4 separate regions of the Homo sapiens genome follow, and all the other regions are linked to region 2. Evidence: promoter capture Hi-C in 16 types of primary human blood cells and fetal thymus (Javierre and others, 2016). All regions are on one chromosome and are shown on one strand. Each heading gives the region's core, a stretch centred on a gene start or on the middle of the fragment in contact. The rest is flanking DNA. Distances are from core to core; before and after follow the strand shown. Region 1 overlaps TTLL4 (tubulin tyrosine ligase like 4). Region 2 holds the start of ATG9A (autophagy related 9A). Region 3 overlaps LINC01494 (long intergenic non-protein coding RNA 1494). Region 4 overlaps WNT6 (Wnt family member 6).

Region 1 (2,700 bases), core at 186-2,685, 510 kb before region 2:
ATATTGCTAATAGGAGGCCAAACTGGACCAGGGTTCTTCCCACCCCCTTCTGCCAGCGTGGCTCTGTATTTGAGGTTAAAGATCCCCAGAGATTTCCTATAAAAGCCATCATGAAGCTTATAGGGCATATCACTAGGGTAAGTGAACAGTGGTGTGAGATAGCCTTGGGAAAGTATCACGTGAGAGGGACACACAACAGGTGCTCGTGGAGAGGGTGGGTCTTGAGCTGGGTCTGGAAAAGGTAAATAAAATATGGTAAGGATTCACAAGGAAGAAGCTTAGTGGAGTAAAGCCCTGCAGACAGGCATTTGAAAGGTTTATTCCAGGAATTTAGTGTAAGACCAGCGCAGTTCACATAACAGAGTTCAAGGTAGGAGGAAATGGAAATAAGCCTTAAAAAAAAAAAAAAAAAGATTAAGGGTCGACTATGGAGTCTTGTGGACCAAAGCTAAGAAATCTCACATGACAGTCATCTGGAATGCTTGTTAAAACTGCAGACTCATGGCCCTACTCCACACCAACTGAATCCTCTTGAAGGTGAATCTCAGGACTTTGCATCTCAGGTTATTCTGATGCAGGTGGGCCACCACAGTGTTTAGTAAGTGCTCATGGACCGTTTTTGAAAAGGGATTGACCTGATGAAGCAATACAGCAAAATTAATCTGGAGGTTGCCTGCAGGGTGGAATTAGGAAGGGCACACCTTGGAGACACATGCTTCAGTCAGTGCTGTTGCAGTAAGTCCAGATCTAGGGGCATGGTGGAAATAATAAAAGGAGGAAGAATGCTAAGTAGACAGAGTGTCTTAAATTTCATGACTGGTTTCCCTTTGGGGAAATAAAGTAAAGGAAAAAGTCAGAAATAACTTAGTTTTCCTCTTAGGTGATTTGGAGAAAGAAGGGTCCACTCAAGGAAATGGGACGATCAGGAGTGGAGAGCTAGTTTGACACACTAGATTGAAGTGGTTGGACATGCATTTGGAAAGGTGGAACAGGCAGTTGGTGATGCAGACATGAAACTTGAGACGACAAATCTGCAAAATGACTCTTCTGCAGATAATAGTTGACATTGTGAGAGAGATTGATTTGATGTGGGGGAGGATGAAAGAACTGGAGGATTTTGGATTGGCCTCAGGAGGAGGAAAGACACTATTGAAGGGGTTGGGTACAGCTGTGGCAGAGTGCACGCACTGAGTAAAAAATAGCAACAAGGAGATGGTGGTAAGAGGGGAACGCCTTTTTCATATGAATAGGTCCAACTCGTGGCTTTGCTGATGTGATATTGTGATATAATAAGAAATACTCCAGCCTGGTCAGCATGGTGAAACCCTGTCTCTACAAAAATACAAAAATTATCCGGGCACGATGGCGGGTGCCTGTAATCCCGGCTATTCGGGAGGCTGAGGCGGGAGAATTGCATGAACGCGGGAGGCAGAGGTTGCAGCGAGCCGAGATCGTACCATTGCACTCCAGCCTGGGCAACACAGTGAGACTCCGGTCTCAAAAAAAAAAAAAAAAAGAAAGAAATACATAATTGGGGTGTGCCCCTGGTTCCTGGCTCCTAAAACCTTCAGAACTTGTAAGTGATAAGTGTCTTTTTATATGCTAATGAGATGATTGATAGCTGGGGACTCCTGAATAGCCTCAAGATGGGAGGCTGATTGCCGAGAGAACCAACCATGTGATTAGAGGGTTGGAACTTTCAGTTCCATCCCCCACCTTCTGGGAAGGGGAGTGGAGCCAAAGATTGAGCTGACTACCAATGGCCAGTGATTTATTCAGTCATGCCTATTAATGAAACCTGCATAAAAACCCAAAAGGACAGGGTTTGGATTGTTGAGCACATGAATGTACCTGGCACTCCCGGTAACAGCACGGAAGCTCCAAGCCCTTTTCCCCATCCCTTGCCCTATGCATCATGTATCTCTTCCATGTGGCTGTTCATCTGTATCCTTTGTAATAAATAGGTAAATGTAAGTGAAGTGTTTCCCTGAGTTCTGTGAGTTGTTCTAACAAATTGATCAAACCCCATGGGGGGGTTTTGGGAACCTCAATTTACCCCCAATTAATTAATTAATTAATTAATTAAGAGGTGGGGTTCTGCCATGTGGCCCAGGCTAATTTTGAACTCCTGGGCTCAAGCGATTCGCCCCACCCAAGGTGTTGGGATTACAGGTGTGCGTCACCGCGCCTGGCCAGGGAACACCAATTTATAGCAAATCAATCAGAAGCACAGGTCACAACCTGTGCCTTGCAATTGGAATCTGAAGTGGAAGCAGCCTTGTGGTACTGAGCCCTTAACCTGTGAGATCTGATGCTATCTTTAGGTAAATAGTGTCAGAATTGAATTATAGGATATCCAGCTGGTGGCCTCTGGAGCATTCCTTGGTGTGTGTGCCTCACACATTTTGATGACCAGAGGTGAAATATTCTGTACTGTGTTAAGAGTGACTATGTAAGGGAGTGAAAAAAGTTTTTTCCCCCTTAGCTGGTCATAGCTGTTGTAGATGCATTTGTTTATTCAGCAAATATTTAATGAGCCCTGATTACCATTCTAGGGCTGGATACATAAGCTCTGTGAAAAAGTCCCTGTGCTCAAAGCTTTCATTCTGGAAGATAGACAGATAGCAAAGAAATGCATAAATAATTGAGGTTTTTATTTTAAAATAGCCAGGCCCAGTGGCTCATACCTGTAATCTCAGC
Region 2 (2,700 bases), core at 54-2,553:
GAGTCCCTCCCCCGCCCATCCTGGGAACCCTGGTCTCCCAAGAGACTAACAGTTTGGAAGCACTTCACAAACAAATGTTTGAGAAAAGCACATGGCCCTACCAGCTCCATGGACAGTATGTGCTCCTCTCCAGCCCTCGATGCTCTGCAGCTGCTGGAGGAGAAGATGTCAGGCCCCAGAGAGTGGGCAGTGGGGATAAAAAGGAACCCAACCCTCCCAGCCATCCACACCCCACCAAGAGGAGGCCAAGCATGGGGCAGGAAGGCTGCAGTGGGGAAGAAGCACCCTTCCAGCCCAGGACTACGAGCACTTCCTCTGGCTGTGCTAAACCGGGCCACTCTTCCAACTCCAGGGTCTCAAGAAGTAACTTAGGGACCCCATGGAGAATGAGTGGGTACAGACCTGAGGCCAGGGGCGCCTCTGGACTATTTCTCCATTGCCCTACCTTAGCCTCAGAAATGACATACTTCTCAGGGTCCACAAAACCTCAAGAGTCTTTCCTGAAGAGGACCTTTCTGGTCAACCCCTTCTCTTACTTCCCTAGCACCAAAGATCCAGCCGGTGAGCAAACCTTCTGGATGGGAAACCTTGACTGGGTCAGTGTAGACCCCCGATCCTAGGTGAATTTGTGGGTTCCCTAGGTCCTGTAAGCCAGGCATGGTCGAGGTGGTACTCACCTGTCCGTGCAGCCCCTGGGGGCCGTGGATCTTGGCCCAGCCTGGCCCCGGTGGGATTCCCTGGGCTAGTGAGAGCCCTGCCCCTCAGGGAAGTCACCACTCACAGGGTCAGTGTGGACCAGGGCCCGTGGAGCCCCGGCCGGCTGGGCCTGGGCTCAGGGGTTCCTGCGGATGTTGCAGGGATCGAGTCAGCCTTACAGCTGATAGCCCGGGTGGGTTGGCTTGCCTCCCCACACCCAGCCGCGGCGACCGTGGACCGGAGTCCACCTCGCCCCAGGGTCGCCCGGCCCCAGGCCAAGGGCTGGCAGCTCCCAACAGCGGACAACCTCGCGCGCGGCCCCGGCGCCCGCGCGCGCCCCCGTCTGCGCGCGCCAGCAATCAAAACATTCCGGCTGCGCGCCCCCGCCCCGCCGGCGGCGCCCCTTCCTCCGTTACCCGCCGCGAGCTCACTTAGGGCTCCGCAGGCACCCCTGGGCAAGGCCAGACACGGGGCCTGGGATTCCAATAACCGGTCTCACGTCTTACCTCAGGAACAGCGACCCGGGTGATTCCAGAGGCTCCGCCGGCTCCGCTCGGCTCGGCTCGGCTCGGCGCGACCCGCGGCGCTAGGCCGGGTGTCTGCCACTCACTGTCACCCGCAGCCAGGCTGGCCAATAAGCACGGGGGGCGGAGACACAACGGCCAATTCTCGGCTTCAGGGACGGGACTAAAGTCTCGAGGCGGGTCTTGGACAGTCAGCGGCCCAATAGTGTGCTCTACGTGGGGCGGGGCTCAGGTGCGGACGCCGCCGGTTGTCCTCTTCGCTGCTCCGTAGTGACGGGGATTGTTGTGTTGCAGAAATCCGGCAATCGACCTGAGGACTTGCGAGCCGCTCAGCTCCCGGGACGTTTGGTGCGTCTTCTAAGGGCGTGGGCGAGTTTACGCGGGCCAGTTGTTGCTGGTCGCATGGGTAACGAAGAAAGTTCGGCTAGGCAAGCTCAGTGATTTTTAACTCTGTTGGACTCGATTTGGGAGCCGAATGCCTATTTCATTCTTTTGTGGGCTGAGACTGGGGGTTTGAGAAAGTGGACGGGGGCCAAGGTATTCATCTCACAGTTGGTAGCAGGATGAGAGACGAGAAGTCTTGCGGTGCAGGAGAAACCAAGTCAGGCAGGCAGGAGACGCAGCAGTAGGATCTCGTTTGCAGGAGCCCTGTTTCTTACACGCTTTCTACTCCAGGAGCTGCTGCTAAATAATTTCTGCTCAGCCATGTCGCCGGCTCCAGATGCAGCCCCGGCTCCTGCGTCGATCTCCCTGTTTGACCTCAGCGCGGATGCTCCGGTCTTTCAGGGCCTGAGCCTGGTGAGCCACGCGCCTGGGGAGGCTCTGGCCCGGGCTCCGCGTACTTCCTGTTCAGGTATCCTGGAAGGTTTCGTGTGAAACGTGACAGGGCTCCTTACAGCGTATTGCCCGTTCAGGGAACACATTCTTATTGGTATTCCCGAGCTTAGGAGGCCAATTGATTTATCTTTCTGCTTGATTAAATTCACTTAATCTCTGGGTAATGTCCAGCACAGCCCTTGTTTTCAAACAAGTCTTTTTGCCATTGCATGTATCTCCTCACGTTAACACCATTCCCTTCAAAAACACTTTAAACTTTGTAGAGATAAAATTCTCAGATGTATTCCACATTTAACCAGGCCCCACTCAAATTATTCCTTTTTGCTGAATATGAAACAATTTATTATTTGTTTCGTATAGCTTTATTTTTTGAGAGTCTCGCTCTGTCGCCCAGGCTAAAGTGCAGTGGCACGATCTCCACCCACTGCAATCTCCGTCTCCCGGGTTCAAGTGATTCTCCTGCCTCAGCCTCCCGAGTAGCTGGGACTACAGGCCCGCACCACCATGCCCGGCTAATTATTGTATTTTTAGTAGAGACGGGGTTTCACCATGTTGGCCAGGCTGGTCTCAAACTCCTGGCCTCAAGTGATCCGCCTGGGTCAGCCTCCCAAAGTGCTGAGATTACAGGCATGAGCCACCGTGT
Region 3 (2,700 bases), core at 195-2,694, 330 kb before region 2:
TGGTATTAAGTACATAGTAGGAACTCAATAAATATAAGTGAATGAATGAATAAATAAATAAATGTCTACAGAAATCACTACTAACTTCTGTCTTCAGGCCCAAACTTCCTTCCTATGATCTTTCTTTTTTTTTCTTTTGAGACAGAGTCTCGCTCTGTCACCCAAGCTGGAATGCAGTGGTGTGATTTCAGCTTACTGCAACCTCTGCCTCCTGGGTTCAAGCAATTCTCCTGCCTTAGCCTCCTGAGTAGCTGGTATTACAGGTGTGCACCACCATGCCGGGCTAATTTTTGTATTTTAGTAGAGACAGGGTTTCGCCATGTTGGCCAGGCAGGTCTTGAATTCCTGACCTCAGGTGATCCACCCATCTTGGCCTCCCAAAGTGCTGGGATTACAGGTGTGAGCCACCACACCTGGTCTCCTGTGATCTTTCTTGAAGTTCCAGCTGCCAGCTAGACATGTTTTAATGTATGCCTGTGATACCACCCACTCAAGCTTTATTTTATTTTATTTTATTTTTGAGACAGAGTCCTGCTCTGTCACCCAGGCTGGAGTGCAATGGCGCCATCTCAGCTCACAGCAACCTCTGACTCCTCTGCCTCCCAGGTTCAAGCAATTCTCCTGCATCAGCCTCCTGAGTGGCTGGGATTACAGGTGGCCTGCCACCACGCCCAGCTCATTTTTTGTATTTTTAGTAGAGATGGGGTTTCACTATGTTGGCCAGGCTGGTCTTGAACTTCTGACCCCAAGTGATCCACCTACCTCAGCCTCCCAAAGTGCTGGGATTACAGGCGTGAGCCACCATGCCCGGCTCAAGCTTTATTAATGCAGATTCATTATCTTATGTATGTATTTGCTAAGGGCTGAGACTTTGTTTTGTTTACTGTTCTTTTCTCAATGCCTAGCACAGTGCTTGGCATAGACCAGGCATTTAATATTTGTTGAATAAGTGAATGAATGACTTTCCCCTCCAAACCAGTTCTCCTTAACTTGCTTGTTTCTCTTTGTCACATCATCATTTTCTTAGTCACTGAACCTCAAAACTGGTGTAAACTTGGACTCTCACCTTCTCTTCTCCTTTCTATATTCAATCAGTGGCCAAGATCTGCTTATTCTTCCACTTCATTCACATGGTCAATATCCTAGTTCACCACACACCTCAAACATCACAACGACCTTCCAACTAGCCTCTGTCATTCCTCTTTCTTCCTCTTCAATCCATCCCTATCCTATTGTTCTGTTTTTCTCTCCCACGAAGTGCTCTGATCATGTCATTTCCTCTGACTAAAGCTCTCAATGGATCTTTGTACCAATTTGGGTTCTTAATTGCAAACAACAGAAACAGACTCTGGTTCACTTAGTAGAAGAGGAATTTACTGGGATGACATCAGGGAACTCAAAGAATTGACAGGAAGCCTCAAGAATCAGGCTCAGGAAGCAAGCAGGAGCCAAGAGAAGCTAGGCAGCTAGAACTTTAGCTAAATCCTGTCCCAAGTGCAGCCTGATTAAGGGGCTTGGGGGCTGCTTCCCACATGGCTACCACCACCCTGAGCACTTGCTGCTGCCACCTCTGGGATGAATTATAAACAGTCCTCTTCCTCCTTGGGTCACTTGTTGAAGATTTAGAGTCCTGACTGGGAGCATTGATTTGGCTGTGATCTTCCTGCTAGGGGCCAGGTGAGCAAGTATCTGACTTCTCACTAAGACTCACATTAGGGAGGCTCCACCAACATATGAAGGGGGCTCAGATGCTGGGCAGCTAAAGACTCCAGTGTGTATCCATATGCAGGTTCCTGAGCATTGAAGCCCTCCACCATATGCCACAAACGATCATCTCCAGTTTTTTCTCACTTCCACACCATGTTCCACTGAAGCATGACTGTGTGCAGTTCCCTGAGCAGTCCTTTCCTGCCTCAGCCCCTGTAATAGCTGGGCCCCAAAGGTGGTCCGCCTTGAATCATGCTTCACACCTGTGTATTGTCCCCTCCCCTTGAAAGGGCCAGTCCATGCTTCCTTTTCACTGAGTGTGCTGTGGAAGCGAAGCTGCATGACTGCTGAAGAGAGGGAATAGGAAGCTTTGCAGTTTTTGCCTCAGTCGCTCGGAATGTTCACTCTGGGGCAAGCCAATCACCGTGTATGAGGTCTGTCTACCCAGAGACTACCATGCTATGAGGAACCCGAAACAAGCCACATGGGAAGGCTGTATAGAGAGAGTAATGCCTGGGCAGGCCCCTTCAGTTCCAGCCAATTCAGATGAGGTGCCAGACATGTGACTTTAAAAAGTCATCTTGGGGCTGGGCTCAGTGGTTCACACCTGTAATCTCAGCACTTTGGGAGGCCGAGGCAGGCGGATAACTTGAGGCCAGGAGTTCAAGACCATCCTGGCCAACATGGCGAAACCCCATCTCTACTAAAAATACAAAAAATTAGCCAGACATAGTGGCACATGCCTGTAGTCCCAGCTTCTCGGGAGGCTGAGGCATGAGAATCACTTGAACCTGGGAGGTGGAGGTTGCAGTGAGTGAGATTGCGCCACTACAGTCCAGCCTGGGTGACGAAGTGAGGCTGTGTCTTCAAAAATAAATAAATAAATAAATAAATTTTTAAAAAGTCATCTTGGATATCCAGCCGAGTTGAGCCTTCAGATGACTCCAGCCTTAGCCACCATCTAACTGAACTGCTTGAGAGACCCCACGTGAG
Region 4 (2,700 bases), core at 119-2,618, 360 kb before region 2:
CGGAAAGATGGGCTGCAAGCATGGATGGACATGTGGGAGGAGAGGTGTCCAGCCTCCAAGAAGGAGTCACGTGGGGGTCTGAGAAGGCCAGATGCTGGACGGTACAGCGGGCAGAATGGGGGAAGGGACACTCAGGGAATAGGACTGAGGGTCTTTAGTGACCCCAGGCAGAGAGGGCACAGCTTCAAGACAGGACAGGTGAAGCAAAGCTTGCAGTGGGTAGGAGGTCTGGATGCCTAGGCAGGGGCAGGAGAATAAAACAAAGGTGGGGATGAAAGACAGGATAGAAGCTAATGCAAGGTCTGGGGTTTTGGTACAGGGAAGCCAGGGGGAGTGAGAGAGGCCTAGAAAGAGTTAGAACAGGTCTGAGGGGCAATGGAAAAGAGCGAAGGACAAGGAACCAATCCTAGTGGAGGTTGGAGGGAGTCAGGTGGAGGCCAGGACAGCTGTGACCAATTCTGGGCATTTGCCAACTGGCTGCCCAGCAACACCAGCCCAGGTCTCACCTGCCCAGAGCCATGGCAGCCTCTCCTCTCCCCTCTGTAACGAGGAGAGCCCCAGGAGCTCTCATTCAGGGGCAAGAAGGTTGTCTGGGTGTGATGGTTCCAGGAGGGGGCAGGGCAGACTCAGGAGGTGGGAGTGGGACACATGGTCAGGTTAGCCCCTGGACTCTGAGCTTCCAGAAATGATTTTCTTGGGTCTTCTGAACCATCAGCGCTTGGTGGGTTTGGGAATCTTAGACCCTGCTTCAGACAGTGACTAGGGGAGAGGCCGCCTGGGTTCCACTCTCAGTACTGCATTCCCAGCGGGCCCTCCTGCACCCCATGCCTCCGTTCTAGCGTTCTCCAGGGACATCGCCATACATACCGTGTCCTCTAGGGTTCGGGCCTGAGGCATCGGGCAGGGGGAGGAGGGGGCCTGAAGAGGAATGTCCGGACAGGCCCACATACCTGCCGAGAGGGTTGGGGAGGGGTGACGGAGACAGATGCCCAGGAGGCTGGCTCTGCGTCTGTGCTCAGCCCGGCCTGGGGGCCGTGAGGGGTAGGAATGAGGGGGCCAGGTAGGCAGGAGAGCTAGACTTCGACAGCTGCCACCTCTCCCCTCCTCCAAAGAGAATCTCACCCCTGCTGTCCATTCTGCTTTCTCCCCCACCCCCTGCCTTTGGACCCTGGAATCTCTGCGCTGCATATTGTCCCCGTCTCCCCTCTTCGTCATCATCATATTCCTCCATCCTCACCATTCCTCCTGCTCCTCCCCTCCGAGTTGTCCTTTCCTTGATTTCCTCCCCCTGAACTTGCGGTCTCCTTTTGTCTGCATTTTCCTCTCTTCCTTTCACCTCCCATTCCCAATCTTATTTTCTGTCCATCCGCTGGGCCCTTCCCTGCACCCCCTACCTGTCCACATGCGTCCGCCCCTCTGCCTCCCGCAGGCCGTGCGGAGCCACACGCGCACCGAGTGCAAATGCCACGGGCTGTCGGGATCATGCGCGCTGCGCACCTGCTGGCAGAAGCTGCCTCCATTTCGCGAGGTGGGCGCGCGGCTGCTGGAGCGCTTCCACGGCGCCTCACGCGTCATGGGCACCAACGACGGCAAGGCCCTGCTGCCCGCCGTCCGCACGCTCAAGCCGCCGGGCCGAGCGGACCTCCTCTACGCCGCCGATTCGCCCGACTTCTGCGCCCCCAACCGACGCACCGGCTCCCCCGGCACGCGCGGTCGCGCCTGCAATAGCAGCGCCCCGGACCTCAGCGGCTGCGACCTGCTGTGCTGCGGCCGCGGGCACCGCCAGGAGAGCGTGCAGCTCGAAGAGAACTGCCTGTGCCGCTTCCACTGGTGCTGCGTAGTACAGTGCCACCGCTGCCGTGTGCGCAAGGAGCTCAGCCTCTGCCTGTGACCCGCCGCCCGGCCGCTAGACTGACTTCGCGCAGCGGTGGCTCGCACCTGTGGGACCTCAGGGCACCGGCACCGGGCGCCTCTCGCCGCTCGAGCCCAGCCTCTCCCTGCCAAAGCCCAACTCCCAGGGCTCTGGAAATGGTGAGGCGAGGGGCTTGAGAGGAACGCCCACCCACGAAGGCCCAGGGCGCCAGACGGCCCCGAAAAGGCGCTCGGGGAGCGTTTAAAGGACACTGTACAGGCCCTCCCTCCCCTTGGCCTCTAGGAGGAAACAGTTTTTTAGACTGGAAAAAAGCCAGTCTAAAGGCCTCTGGATACTGGGCTCCCCAGAACTGCTGGCCACAGGATGGTGGGTGAGGTTAGTATCAATAAAGATATTTAAACCACCAGGGCTGGACCCACAGTTTTGGGGGAGACTGATCTTCAGGCTGCCAGGCTCCAGAAGAAGGTGGTTTTGCTAGAACTAGCACCTCAGGGGCTATCACCTGGGTCCCTATCTCCCGACCAGGTTGGCCTCTCCTGGAAACTCGCTATCTCCCCTTGGCATTCTTCTTGTTCACTCCTGTCACACATCTAGGTCCTGGATCTGCAAGCTGGAGAAGAACTAGCAATTCCTCTTTAAAGGGACAGGGGCATCAGAAGCTTCTGATGCATACCTCTTGACACCCAACAATATTTCCTTCCTTCTGGTTCCTCTTGGGAAGCTACTGGTGAAAGTGAGGAGACAGAGGGCAGTTCTGGATTCTCCAGAGCTGAAGCTTGAGCTCTCATCTTCCTCCAGAGAGAAAGAGGGATGGCATAGCCCAACTT

What was found. Contacts are between HindIII fragments. The CHiCAGO score rates a contact against its expected background, and 5 or more counts as called.
Region 1: a fragment that was not itself captured here is called in contact with the fragment with the promoter of ATG9A in region 2 in 1 of 17 cell types (erythroblasts); the score reaches 5.2 in erythroblasts.
Region 3: a contact is called between a fragment that was not itself captured here and the fragment with the promoter of ATG9A in region 2, in 2 of 17 cell types (total B cells and naive B cells). The highest score is 6.0, in total B cells.
Region 4: a contact is called between a fragment that was not itself captured here and the fragment with the promoter of ATG9A in region 2, in 1 of 17 cell types (activated CD4 T cells). The highest score is 5.0, in activated CD4 T cells.

Annotation. Positions count from the first base shown.
Region 1 is chr2:218,719,176-218,721,875 of GRCh38, forward strand. The region is part of intron 1 of TTLL4 (tubulin tyrosine ligase like 4); the gene reads left to right. Among named protein-coding and RNA genes, the nearest start is that of TTLL4, 9.7 kb to the left of the region's middle. RefSeq lists a silencer at 391-688. The HindIII fragment of the contact is 2,321 bases long and covers 276-2,596 here.
Region 2 is chr2:219,228,333-219,231,032 of GRCh38, forward strand. It overlaps ATG9A (autophagy related 9A), which reads right to left and starts at 1,304. Exons shown (of 16, transcript NM_001077198.3): 1 at 1,203-1,304; 2 at 102-153. ANKZF1 (ankyrin repeat and zinc finger peptidyl tRNA hydrolase 1) reads left to right here and starts at 1,474. Exons shown (of 14, transcript NM_018089.3): 1 at 1,474-1,568; 2 at 1,896-2,073. The coding sequence starts at 1,926. RefSeq lists enhancers at 244-792, 793-1,340, 1,341-1,888, 1,559-1,668 and silencers at 1,019-1,068, 1,279-1,408. The HindIII fragment of the contact is 5,267 bases long and covers 1-2,700 here.
Region 3 is chr2:218,903,103-218,905,802 of GRCh38, forward strand. The region is part of intron 4 of LINC01494 (long intergenic non-protein coding RNA 1494); the gene reads right to left. Among named protein-coding and RNA genes, the nearest start is that of WNT10A, 24 kb to the left of the region's middle. The HindIII fragment of the contact is 1,258 bases long and covers 816-2,073 here.
Region 4 is chr2:218,871,955-218,874,654 of GRCh38, forward strand. It overlaps WNT6 (Wnt family member 6), which reads left to right. Exons shown (of 4, transcript NM_006522.4): 4 at 1,430-2,279. The coding sequence ends at 1,891. It also overlaps a transcript of WNT10A not described here. Among named protein-coding and RNA genes, the nearest start is that of WNT10A, 7.5 kb to the right of the region's middle. RefSeq lists an enhancer at 1-647. The HindIII fragment of the contact is 2,323 bases long and covers 208-2,530 here.